Linked DNA regions of Homo sapiens: region 1 is linked to region 2. Evidence: promoter capture Hi-C in 16 types of primary human blood cells and fetal thymus (Javierre and others, 2016). All regions are on one chromosome and are shown on one strand. The core of a region is centred on a gene start or on the middle of the fragment in contact, and the rest is flanking DNA. Distances in the headings are between cores, read along the strand shown. Region 1 overlaps SPICE1 (spindle and centriole associated protein 1). Region 2 holds the start of USF3 (upstream transcription factor family member 3).

Region 1 (5,256 bases), core at 2,719-5,218, 200 kb after region 2:
TTGCAGAAAAGTAGTAGAAATTATTATTTCTTTCTGTACATCTTTTAGGTAGGTTTACCAGTTCTATATACTGCTTTCTTTAAGATCATTTTTGAAAATTTAGGGGACTGAAAATTTTGGCTATGAATATATATAAACATGCACATATTGGACCAGAAAAAGTTTAAAAAGTGATGAACTAGAGTAGGTGATCTCATCATCTGAATAGGCAACTTCTTTGTGTCTGAAACATTCCTTTATGTACTTTTCTCTTCTGTATAGGTACGCCGTCATGAAATACACAAATCGAAGAATAGAGCATTAGTACACTGGGAACTCCAAGAAAAAGCTTTGAAGAGAAAATGGAGGAAGCAGAAACCAGAAACTTTAAATCTTGAGAAAAGAAGATTGTCTATCATGAAGGAGGTAATGCTAAACTGCATTAGAGTTAGAAAGAAAAAAAGGAGATAAATAGGGTTCTTTGTTTTTCTTCAATTTGATTCACGTTGGAGAGACTCTAGTAATCACTGCATTCTTATTCAATAATCTACATGTGGACTTCAAAAAAAGCAACAGAGTGGTGACTGGAGTCTGGTTTGGTGGTTTGAATTCCTGTTCTACTACTTACCAGCTGTGTGACCCTAAGTAAATTATTTAACTTTTCAGCCTGAATTTTCTCATATTTAAAATTATTATTTGCTTGTATTGCTATGAGATTTCAGTGATATAATACTTACAAAGTGAATAGCACAATCTTTGCTTATTCCTCTTTTTGTATATAAGCTGCTATAATAATTTTTCTCAGTAAAGTGATTAGCACAATCTTTTCTTATTCCTCTTTTTATATATAAGCTGCTATAATTATTTTTCTCAGTTTAACAGCAGTGCTGTTAGGTTACTTTGAAAAAAAAATGATGTTGTATGCTTGTCCAACTGAGTAATAAGCAACTTGTCTTTGGCTTAACCTTTTGCCAGACGTGGGGTGTTCAGATAAGTAATCAGATATGTAGGGATAAACAATATGGGAAATAAGAGGAAACTACAGCAAATAACCTTTTTAAATTTGAGCTGAAGTCATTGTGAAGGAATGTGCTTTGTCTGTAGTGTTGCTCCTTGTTCATATTGAAGCTTATGTACAGCACTTAGCTGTCTGACCTTTCACGGCAGCTTTGAATCATACATTTTCTTTTGAGGAATTTGTTAGGCTTCTTATTGAAATAAAGTCTCAGTCTTAGACATCATCAGGAAGAATAATATCTCCCAAATAAATGTTTACATGAGCTTGAGAAAAGAACAGTGGCTTGATTGAGAGAATGCTTCTTTACAGGTAAGTATCTTTTGGTGATCTTGGACAAGTCGCATACATTTAAATGTTATGGGGTAATTCTCAGTGAAAGGCCTAAAAACACAGATCTCACCACGAAAAAAGGCAGCCTGCTTGGATTGCATCAGACTCTGGGCTTATTTTCCTTTCTCTAGTGGTTCCTGCTCATGTCCTGAATTTCTCATACAAGTTATAGATGTGGTAGAAGTAGGTGTTTAAAGAAGGGTGGTGAGAGACGATGAGTGATGTTTCTTTGCCTTCTTTTTGTAGATCTGCTGCCTCAGGCACTAGTATAGTGGTTCTCAACTCTCACTGCACATTAGAATCAGTCAGGGTCAAGAAGCTCCATTAAAAAAATATATAACAGCTGGGTGTGGCAGCTCATGCCTGTAATCCCAGCATTTTGGGAGGCCAAGGCGGGCAGATCACCTGAGGTCAGGAGTTCAAGACCAGCCTGGCCAACATGGTGAAACCCCATCTCTACAAAAATACAGAAATTAGCTGAGCATGATGGCGGGTGCCTGTAATCCCAGCTACTTGGGAGGCTGAGGTGGGAGAATTGCTTGAACCTGGGAGGCGGAGGTTGCAGTGAGCCGAGATTGGTCCATTGCACTCCAGCCTGTCTCAAAAACAACAACAGCAAAACCAAAAAAAAAAAAAAGCCCTAAAGATTAGCTGGGTACAGTGGCAGGTGCCTGTAGTCCCAGCTACTCAGGAGGCTGAGGCAGGAGAATCGCTTGAATCCGGGTTGCAGTGAGCTGAGATTGTGCCACTGCACTCCAGCCTGGGCAACAGAGTGAGACTCTGTCTCAAAAAAAAAAAAAAAAAAAAAAGCTCTCTTTCTCTCTCTCTCTCTCTATGTATGTATGCATATATATATAACTATATCTGGACTCTATACCCAGAGATTCAGATTTAGTTGACCTAGGATGTGGCCCCATGTAGGTGTTTTTTAGACAGTTCCTATGTAATTTGAATGTGCTGCAGGGGTTGAGCACCTCAGCTCTCATCAGGATTCAGGTATTTTCTCTCTACCAGCATATCTTGGGATAATTTCCTGTCAGTGCTTAGACATCTACCTTTTCTTTTTGATGGCCATTAGCATATAGATGTACCACAATTTATTTATCCTGTGCTTTATTGGTGAACACTTAGGTTGTGTGTTAGAGTATAGTTTAAGCTTCTGGAAATAAAAAAATACCCTCCTATATGTTTTGCTTTAAACAAACAAATTTGTTTCTGTTTATTAAACAGTTGAGAGGAAAGTGGTAGCTGGTAGGGAACTCTGCAGTCCTTTATTACACAGCTTCTGTCTCTGAATACAAAATGGCCATAGCAGCTTCATTCAGCTATATGCCAGCCAGCAGGAAACAGGAAGAACAGTGCATGCTACTCCTATTACATGTCACCCAGAAGTTCTGGCATATATCCTGTTGGCCAGAAAGTCATCACATGGCCATTCCCACTTACAAAGATGGTTGGGAAATCTAGCTATGTAATTGGCTAAAATGCAGGAGTTCTGCTGTTAAAGGAGAAACCAAAAGAACATTGCTGGATACTTAAGTAGTACTGTCAGTTACCCACAGATTGTCTTCTACCTTGCTACTATCAATAATGTAATAAATATCCTTGAAAATGTTTTTGGGTACACATGTAAGTATATTTTCAGGATAAATTCTTAAAAGTAGAATTGCTTAGTCAATGGATATGTGCATCTTTTATTTCAATGTTGGTAAATTTGCAACGTCTCTGTTTAAGGGATGCAGTGGACCAAAGGAAGAAGCCTCCTTAGACATATTCACATAAGCTTCATCATTATGTATTAAAGCTAACAGGACCCATCCACCTGAAGCTGGACTCCCAGATTAACATAAATTAAGAGAAAGCTCTTTGGCCAGCATAATCTTAGATTTCATTTGCTGTAAGATGTACCCATGCCATGGGAATCAAGCAAATTAGGGTTCCCTCTCACTCATGGAGAGGCTTTCAAAAAGATCTTATAAATCCCCAAAATGTAATAACTCCTAAAGCCTCTTTGTAATTTCCCAATTCTACCTCATGTCTTTTACTGTGGTACAAAAGGGCTAAGATGACGAGTTTCTGATAATGTCTTTTTTTTTGTAGAGACTGGGATCCTTTGAAAATCCAACATGTGTACCACCACTTACAGGTTTAAGTTTGTGCTCTGCAAACTCATTTGAGGAGTAATAGATAGAGTTAGGCTTGTAGAGATCAGTTTACCTGTCAAATGGATGGGCTTTATGAGAGGAGTTATAAATCTAGAAAGAAGAAGTAAAAGCCAATACACTGATCTTTGATCACTCAAACCATTTTTCCCAAGGGCAGGGACTAAACAGGGGTTTCCAGTCTTTTGGCTTCCCTGGGGCACATTGGAAGAAGAAGAATTGTCTTGGGCCACACATAAAATAAACTAACATTAATGATAGCTGATGAGCTAAAAAAAAAAAAAAAAAAAAAAAAGTTGTAAAAAAAAAATCTCATAATGTTTTAAGAAAGTTTACAAATTTGTGTTAGGCCACATTCAAAGCCATCCTGAGCCACAGGTTGGACAAGCTTGGACTAGCAGAAGGTGACAGATAATGGTTTTTACATGAGACCTCATTATAATCAATATCAGGTCTCAATATGGTTATAAGATTATAATCTTCATGTGTCAATTCCATCTCTTTATTTTGATAGGTCAATGCTTTTAAAAAATAGTAAACTCTTAAAATTATTATTAGGAAATAAGCTTTGTGTAATTTTTCTGGTATAGTGAAAGATTATACTCATTCATTCACATTCTTTCCTAAGCTCATAATTCCTTGTACTTGCAAGACGGCTAAGTAAGAATAGAAATTTGGTTTGTGGGATAATATAATTTAAGTTATAGCAAAATTCTGAAACATCTCTAGAGTGGTATATAGGTTTTCAGTGTTTCCATATCCATCTACCACCCCTGTGGGGCTGGGGAAGGGTTGTTGACTGGGACTGGACTCTCAGTCTTCTGGGTCTGATGTGCTCTTGACCTGATACCATTCCAAAGCTTACTCTTTGTAGAAGGAATAAATTCAGGGCTTTCTTCTCACTGAGTCAGCCAACCTGCTTGGCTATAGCCGGGGAAGAAGGGGAAAAATTAAGAATGTGACTCTTGCTATTTTTCTTTCTGTGTCTTAAAACAATAACTGAGGTCACATTGTGTATGTATTTGATTCTGTAGTATAGAGAAATTCTGGTAAGAGTATTTGTTATCAGATATTTTATCAATTTGAGTCAAGTGTTGGAAACTGAGCAGTTTCCAGGTACTTTTTAACTTGAGAATGCCATCTGGTGGTGGTGCCGAGAGAATTATCTGGCTTTTACTCTAGCCTGTGGCCTTACTTTTAATTATGAAAGTTCCTAAGTTGAAAGTGCATAATCCAGAGGCACTACTGTAATGTTACTTTTTGTGTTCTTACCTCTCCAGGGTAAAAAACTGATTTGTTTTTAAACACAGAGGCCTCACATTTTTTGTTTAATGCTAAAACTCATATCTTATGTCATGTTTTTAAAGTTGTAGGTCATGACTTGACACATTAGTGGATTACATTAGTGGATTCTGAATTCACTCTAGTGGTTGAAACACCTCTAAGTTTATGGCTCAAAGATTCATATCTTTCATCTGTGTTTTTCAAACTATGGATTATAATTTGTTAATGAATTGTGAAGTGAGTTGCTGCCAACATTTAAAAAATAGAATAGAAATTAACAAGAAAATATCAGTGGTTCTCATGGAGCAAGGTTAATTAAAACTTTTATTTTAATTAACTTTTTATTTAATTAAAACTTTTATTTTGTATATGTGTATGTAAATGTGGTGGGTCACAATTGTGAATATTTCTTTTTTTTTTTTTTGAGACGGAGTCTCGCTCTGTCGCCCAGGCTGGAGTGCAGTGGCGGGATCTCGGCTCACT
Region 2 (4,970 bases), core at 244-2,743:
AGTTGTTTAGGAAATCATGCACACCCTGGATATGATATTTGTTAACGAGAAATACCTTGTATTCTGAACACACTGGAAATTGTTTCCTATGGCTGAGCATACCAATACTATACAATTTTATGGTGATGTTATTAGCATTGCTATTATGGCTCTGACTCGTAGAATCTTTCTTATCTGCAGTTTTGATTTGGATGTGCCAAGTCTGTTCAAAGGCTAATTAGAACTTCGTGTGCCTAGATGGATGAGTTAAAGAAAATTTCTAGCCTGTTTATTAGTACCACAGTTTATAAGCAACATTACAGGCCTTCCGTTTCATCATAGCTTTTCAATCTGCTGTACAAACATAAGACTCCGTTACTGTTAGCCTTTACCCTTTTGCTCAATGCGATGTCTGCTGCTTCTGTATACAGGCTCAAGTAATTCCCATTATGCCATGCCCTGTGTGCACCTTCTGGAAGTTAGCCCACGGACATCTAAGATCTGGGATATTTCCAAATCTGGTTGTGGAAGGGCTTGGAAATCTATAACCGCAACTAGGTGGAGGACACCTGTTTCAGCAGGAGGTTATAAAATATGAAGCGAAACTAGGAAGAGGGAGTTGTGATCACGGTTCCAAGGGCTCCACACAGATCCTGGAGTTAAGGGGCACTCAGGTCTCCATTTCGTGACCCCTGGCCCTACCTCTCCTAGATCCAGGTATTTAGTAACCCAGGCTTGAGATCTCAAACCCCATCCCCCAATGCCAAACTCCCTTGTCCCAGCTGGGAGGCCCCCAGGGCATTTCTGAACATGGCCATCTCCAATTCACAGAAATCTGTGTGTTGTTGCAAATAAAGGATGACAAGAGACCACAGCCTACGAATGCGAGCAGCGTCAAGTCAGCAACAATCTTCCAGTTATCGAGAAGTCGGAAACGTCTGATTCTTTCTTCTCCACATTTACTAAGACGTATCTTCTCACCTTCCTGCCCTCCACGTTAAGAGGGGCTAACTATTCCGAAAGACTTCCGTGCCCTCTTCCTTTTCAATTTTTCCACTTCCAAACTCCTACCGAAAGACGAAGAAAAGAGACCACAGAAGAAGATACAAAGAAGTTTCTTAAAACACCTTCTTTTCTAGGTTCTCAAGGCGTCCCCTTTAAGGAACCAGGCCCACCTCTTTCCCATTCACCTACTGGCTTTCCTTCCTGTCCGTCACTCTACCTTTAAGAATATTTCCTGTTTCTTCAACCCAACTTGCACACCTCCGCCCCCCGGCCCTCCTCATTGGGCCGCCCGATCCCCGTTCACTCCTTGGTTTCCTCTCCGCCTCCTCCCGCCCTCTAGCGTAGTGCAACGGCATTCTGTCTTCTTATTGGCTACCACGGCAGCGTTCCCGCAGCCTGATTGGCGGGTTGAGTGAAAGAGGCGGGAACGCGGCGCGCCCAGGGTAGGCTGTTCGCTTGCTGAGCTGCGGCCGCGGGAGGGGCGGGGAGGGGCGGGGGGAGGGGGGCTGGGAAAGTTGAGGCCGCGCTGCCGCCGGGTCTCCGGCCTTGAGGGCTCGGGCTCGCAGCGGCTGCGGTGGCCGCAAAAAGAGGCGGCGGGGGCGGGGGGAGAGGAGGGCCTGGGCCCGCGCTCCCCCAGCCCCGGAGGAGCAGGCGGTGGCCGCGGACGGAGAGATTCGCCCAGACGGTCAGACACTCCTGCCTTCCCCTCCTGGGATCATGACCCAGGCGGGGGTCGCCGCCGTCGCCGCCGCCACCGCGGCCGAGACCGCGCAGCCGGCGGGTAAGTGACTGCGGGAGGGGGCCGCTGACAGCCGGGGCGGGGGGCGGGGGCCAGGGCTGCGGGGGCGGCTCCGGAGGGCGGCCCCGGGCTCAGCTCCACCCACCCCCTTCCTGCTCCGGGAGGCCAGGGCTGCGCTAAGTGCGCCTCCTTCCTGGGGACCCTTGCGTGCGGCACCTGGTGGGGCGTCAGCGCCCGCGGCGAGCGCACCCCTCATCTCCCGCCCGCCCTGCGTCCCCGGCTGCCAGGCCCGTGGGGGGCTCGCACTGCGCCCCAGCTCCTAGATGCGCGCGGGGCGAGAGGGGCCCCACGCTGCCCTGGGTGCATAAAGAGCTGGGCAGCCAGGTTCACACCAGATGGCCTTTGCCCGCCTCCTTCACCTTTTCCTGTCTTCTTCATTCCCCTTCTTTCCTTGCCCTCTGAATTTCTTTCGTACCCGTTCGTCAGACTCATGTGGCTTGCTTTTTCCCTCTCACCCCTCTGTCGAAGTGTTAGGCTTGTGTTTTCTTTTTAGAAGCCGTTCTTTTGCTTTCTGAGTAGAAGCAGTGCAAGTGAATGACCAACTCTTGAAATCTACTTTCATGTATCCGGATGAAATATAAGATTCCTGGACTCTTGTTCATGTTTACAATTTTGATAGTTGAATTCACCCCACTCGTTCTTGAAGCTTGTCCTCCCAACCCTCCTCGTTACATTGGGATATGGTCCTTTGCGTTTATTAACTTTATCTGGAAATATGAGACTGCATAAACCAAAGTGCAGAATTTCAACTTCCGTTCTTGTAACATTTTTACCATCAAGTAGATACAGTAACCTAACACCACACAGATCAAGACAGTCGTGGCCAACTGTGTAGGCAAAGAAGACATTTCCTTACCTATAAACAACGTACAGATTTCTTGAATAAATCTTACGGTGAGTTACATGGATCCTGAAACATATTCCCAGGTTTGCTCTTTTGTAAAGAAAACCAAACAGACAAACCTGCCTTTTGAAGGATCAACAGGCTGTCCTACTCTCCATTCACCTTGATGACTTTTTTCTCTCCCATAGAACTCTTGTTTAACATAGTACAGAGTTGCTGTTTGGGATACATGTGTTGTTTCTCTTTAAGTACTCAAAGTATTTGTTACAAAAGAAGTAAAATACATTGTAATTGCACTTCTGAAAGCAGAAGTAGTGTAATGTATCCATGCAAGAATGAATGCTTAATCCTAAAGCAGTTTTGCTTTAGCCTAAGCCAAGCTTTTCCAACCCCCGTCCAAGGACGGCTTTTAATGCGGCCCAAGACAAGAAGACAAGTTCGTAAACTTTCTTTTATTTTTTTTGAGACAGAGTCTCACTCTGTCGCCCAGGCTGGAATGCAGTGGTGTTATCTCAGTTCACTGCAACCTCCGCCTCCTGGGTTCAAGCAATTCTCCTGCATCAGCCTCCTGAGTAGCTGGGATTACAGGTGCATGCCACCAGCCCAGCTAATTTTTATTTCTTTAAGTAGAGACAGGGTTTCTCCATGTTGGCCAGGCTGGTCTTGCACTCCTGACCTCAGGTGATCCGCCTGCCTCTGTTTCCGAAAGTGCTGGGATTACAGGCATGAGCCGCTGCGCCCGGCCTCAAATTTGTAAACTTTTTAAAACATTATGAGATGTTTGTGTGTGATATTTATTTACTTATTTATTTAAGCTCATCAGCTATCGTTAGTGTTAGTGTATTTGATGGGTGGCCCAAGACATTTCTTCTTCCTGTGTGCCCCAGGGAGGTCAAAAGATTGGACACTCCTGGTCTAAGCTAAAAGACTTAGGTGTACATAGGTATTGGGATCTCCCTGTATTTAGGAGTTTTGCAAAATCTGGATGCAGCCTAGAACATTCGCTGATATAAAAGGAGTGCATTGCAGGGATGTAAGAGCAGCTTAGAATTGAAGTACTTATCTTCTAGGTTAGTCGTCTATGGAACATCGTGGAAGTAAAATTCTAAGGTTGTAGACCTTACACTCAATGAACCAGTCATGTATGAGAAATTGATGGGTACTTTTCCTATTTTCAGAGCTTAGCCTTGTCAACAAGGGAAAAGAAACACTAAGAAAACTGAGAATTTTTAACTCAGGTTAGAATACAAGCTTCAACAGGTAATCAGCTCAAGTTTGTTGCTTATAAACAGGGTCTTAAATCAAGCTTGAGCCTTAATCATATCTGTCATGCTTTACCTCTCTGTTCTCTAGTCCAGTAGTTCTCAATCCAGACTGTACATGAGCATCACCTTGTGTGTCTTTAAGTTTTAATGCCCAGGCCACTTCCCTCAGAAACTCTCTTATTTTTGATCTGGAGTAAAGCTCTGCCATGGGCATATTTTTTAAAGCTCTCCAGGTGATTCTGTTCAGTAGCCCTGGCTGAGAACTCCCATGAGACTACGTCCAAAAGCTAAGCTTGTGTTCTGGGCTTTCCTAAATCAGGCCTCACTCATGTGTCCAACTTTCCCCCCACTGCTTTTGCTACAGACGTTGACGTTGACCTTTCTCAGGATATGGACACCTTTCCTCTATTCCTCCCTACCGCCAATAATAGTTCTAATTACACTTTTATGAAAGTTTTCTGGATAGCTTACTCTAGTTCTTAGTGATCGACCCCCTTTGAACTTCTATGCTACATGGTTAAAAGATTCTCTTTAGGCTTACGGTATGTGGCAGTTTAAGTTCTATGTGTATGTGTTTCATTGTTCTCAAATGTTATGCTAAGGAATATTTTATTTTTCATCTCTTTCACAGTGGTTTTAAGTTGGATTGGTTTGGTTTGGAACCCTTCTGACTCTTCCTGCAACCATAGTTTTAGGTTTGATTTCATCTTAGGTATGTTAGTAGCTTCATCATACCTTAACTAGCATTGAATTCCTGTATAGACATCCGTTTTTTTCATATCTTTTCTTAATTTCATTAGTAGATGATTTATCTTCCGTGGCCCCGTAACAGTTGTACTTGTTTCTGTGCTAGCACTTAGCACACTGCCATAAGTATGTGTTTATATGCCTTCCCCACCATACTGCTAACCAGGGCCTCCATGTTGAGCAACTCCAGGGGGTACCATTCACATATTCTTGAATACCATTGCAACATGGCAGAAATAGAACTCCACTAACATAGGAAATGTGTTCTTTTTATCTTTGTATTTTTGGGACCTAACATTGTATTTGTGATTACTAGGCAGTTAATAAATGT

What was found. Contacts are between HindIII fragments. The CHiCAGO score rates a contact against its expected background, and 5 or more counts as called.
Region 1: a fragment that was not itself captured here is called in contact with the fragment with the promoter of USF3 in region 2 in 4 of 17 cell types (fetal thymus, megakaryocytes, naive B cells and 1 more); the score reaches 8.5 in fetal thymus.

What each region holds. Positions count from the first base shown.
Region 1 is chr3:113,494,588-113,499,843 of GRCh38, reverse strand. It overlaps SPICE1 (spindle and centriole associated protein 1), which reads left to right. Exons shown (of 18, transcript NM_144718.4): 4 at 262-405. SPICE1-CFAP44 (SPICE1-CFAP44 readthrough (NMD candidate)) reads left to right here. Exons shown (of 52, transcript NR_183050.1): 4 at 262-405. Among named protein-coding and RNA genes, the nearest start is that of SPICE1, 18 kb to the left of the region's middle. The HindIII fragment of the contact is 178 bases long and covers 3,880-4,057 here.
Region 2 is chr3:113,693,165-113,698,134 of GRCh38, reverse strand. USF3 (upstream transcription factor family member 3) reads left to right here and starts at 1,493. Exons shown (of 7, transcript NM_001009899.4): 1 at 1,493-1,765. RefSeq lists silencers at 1,283-1,752, 1,773-2,162. The HindIII fragment of the contact is 8,785 bases long and covers 1-2,431 here.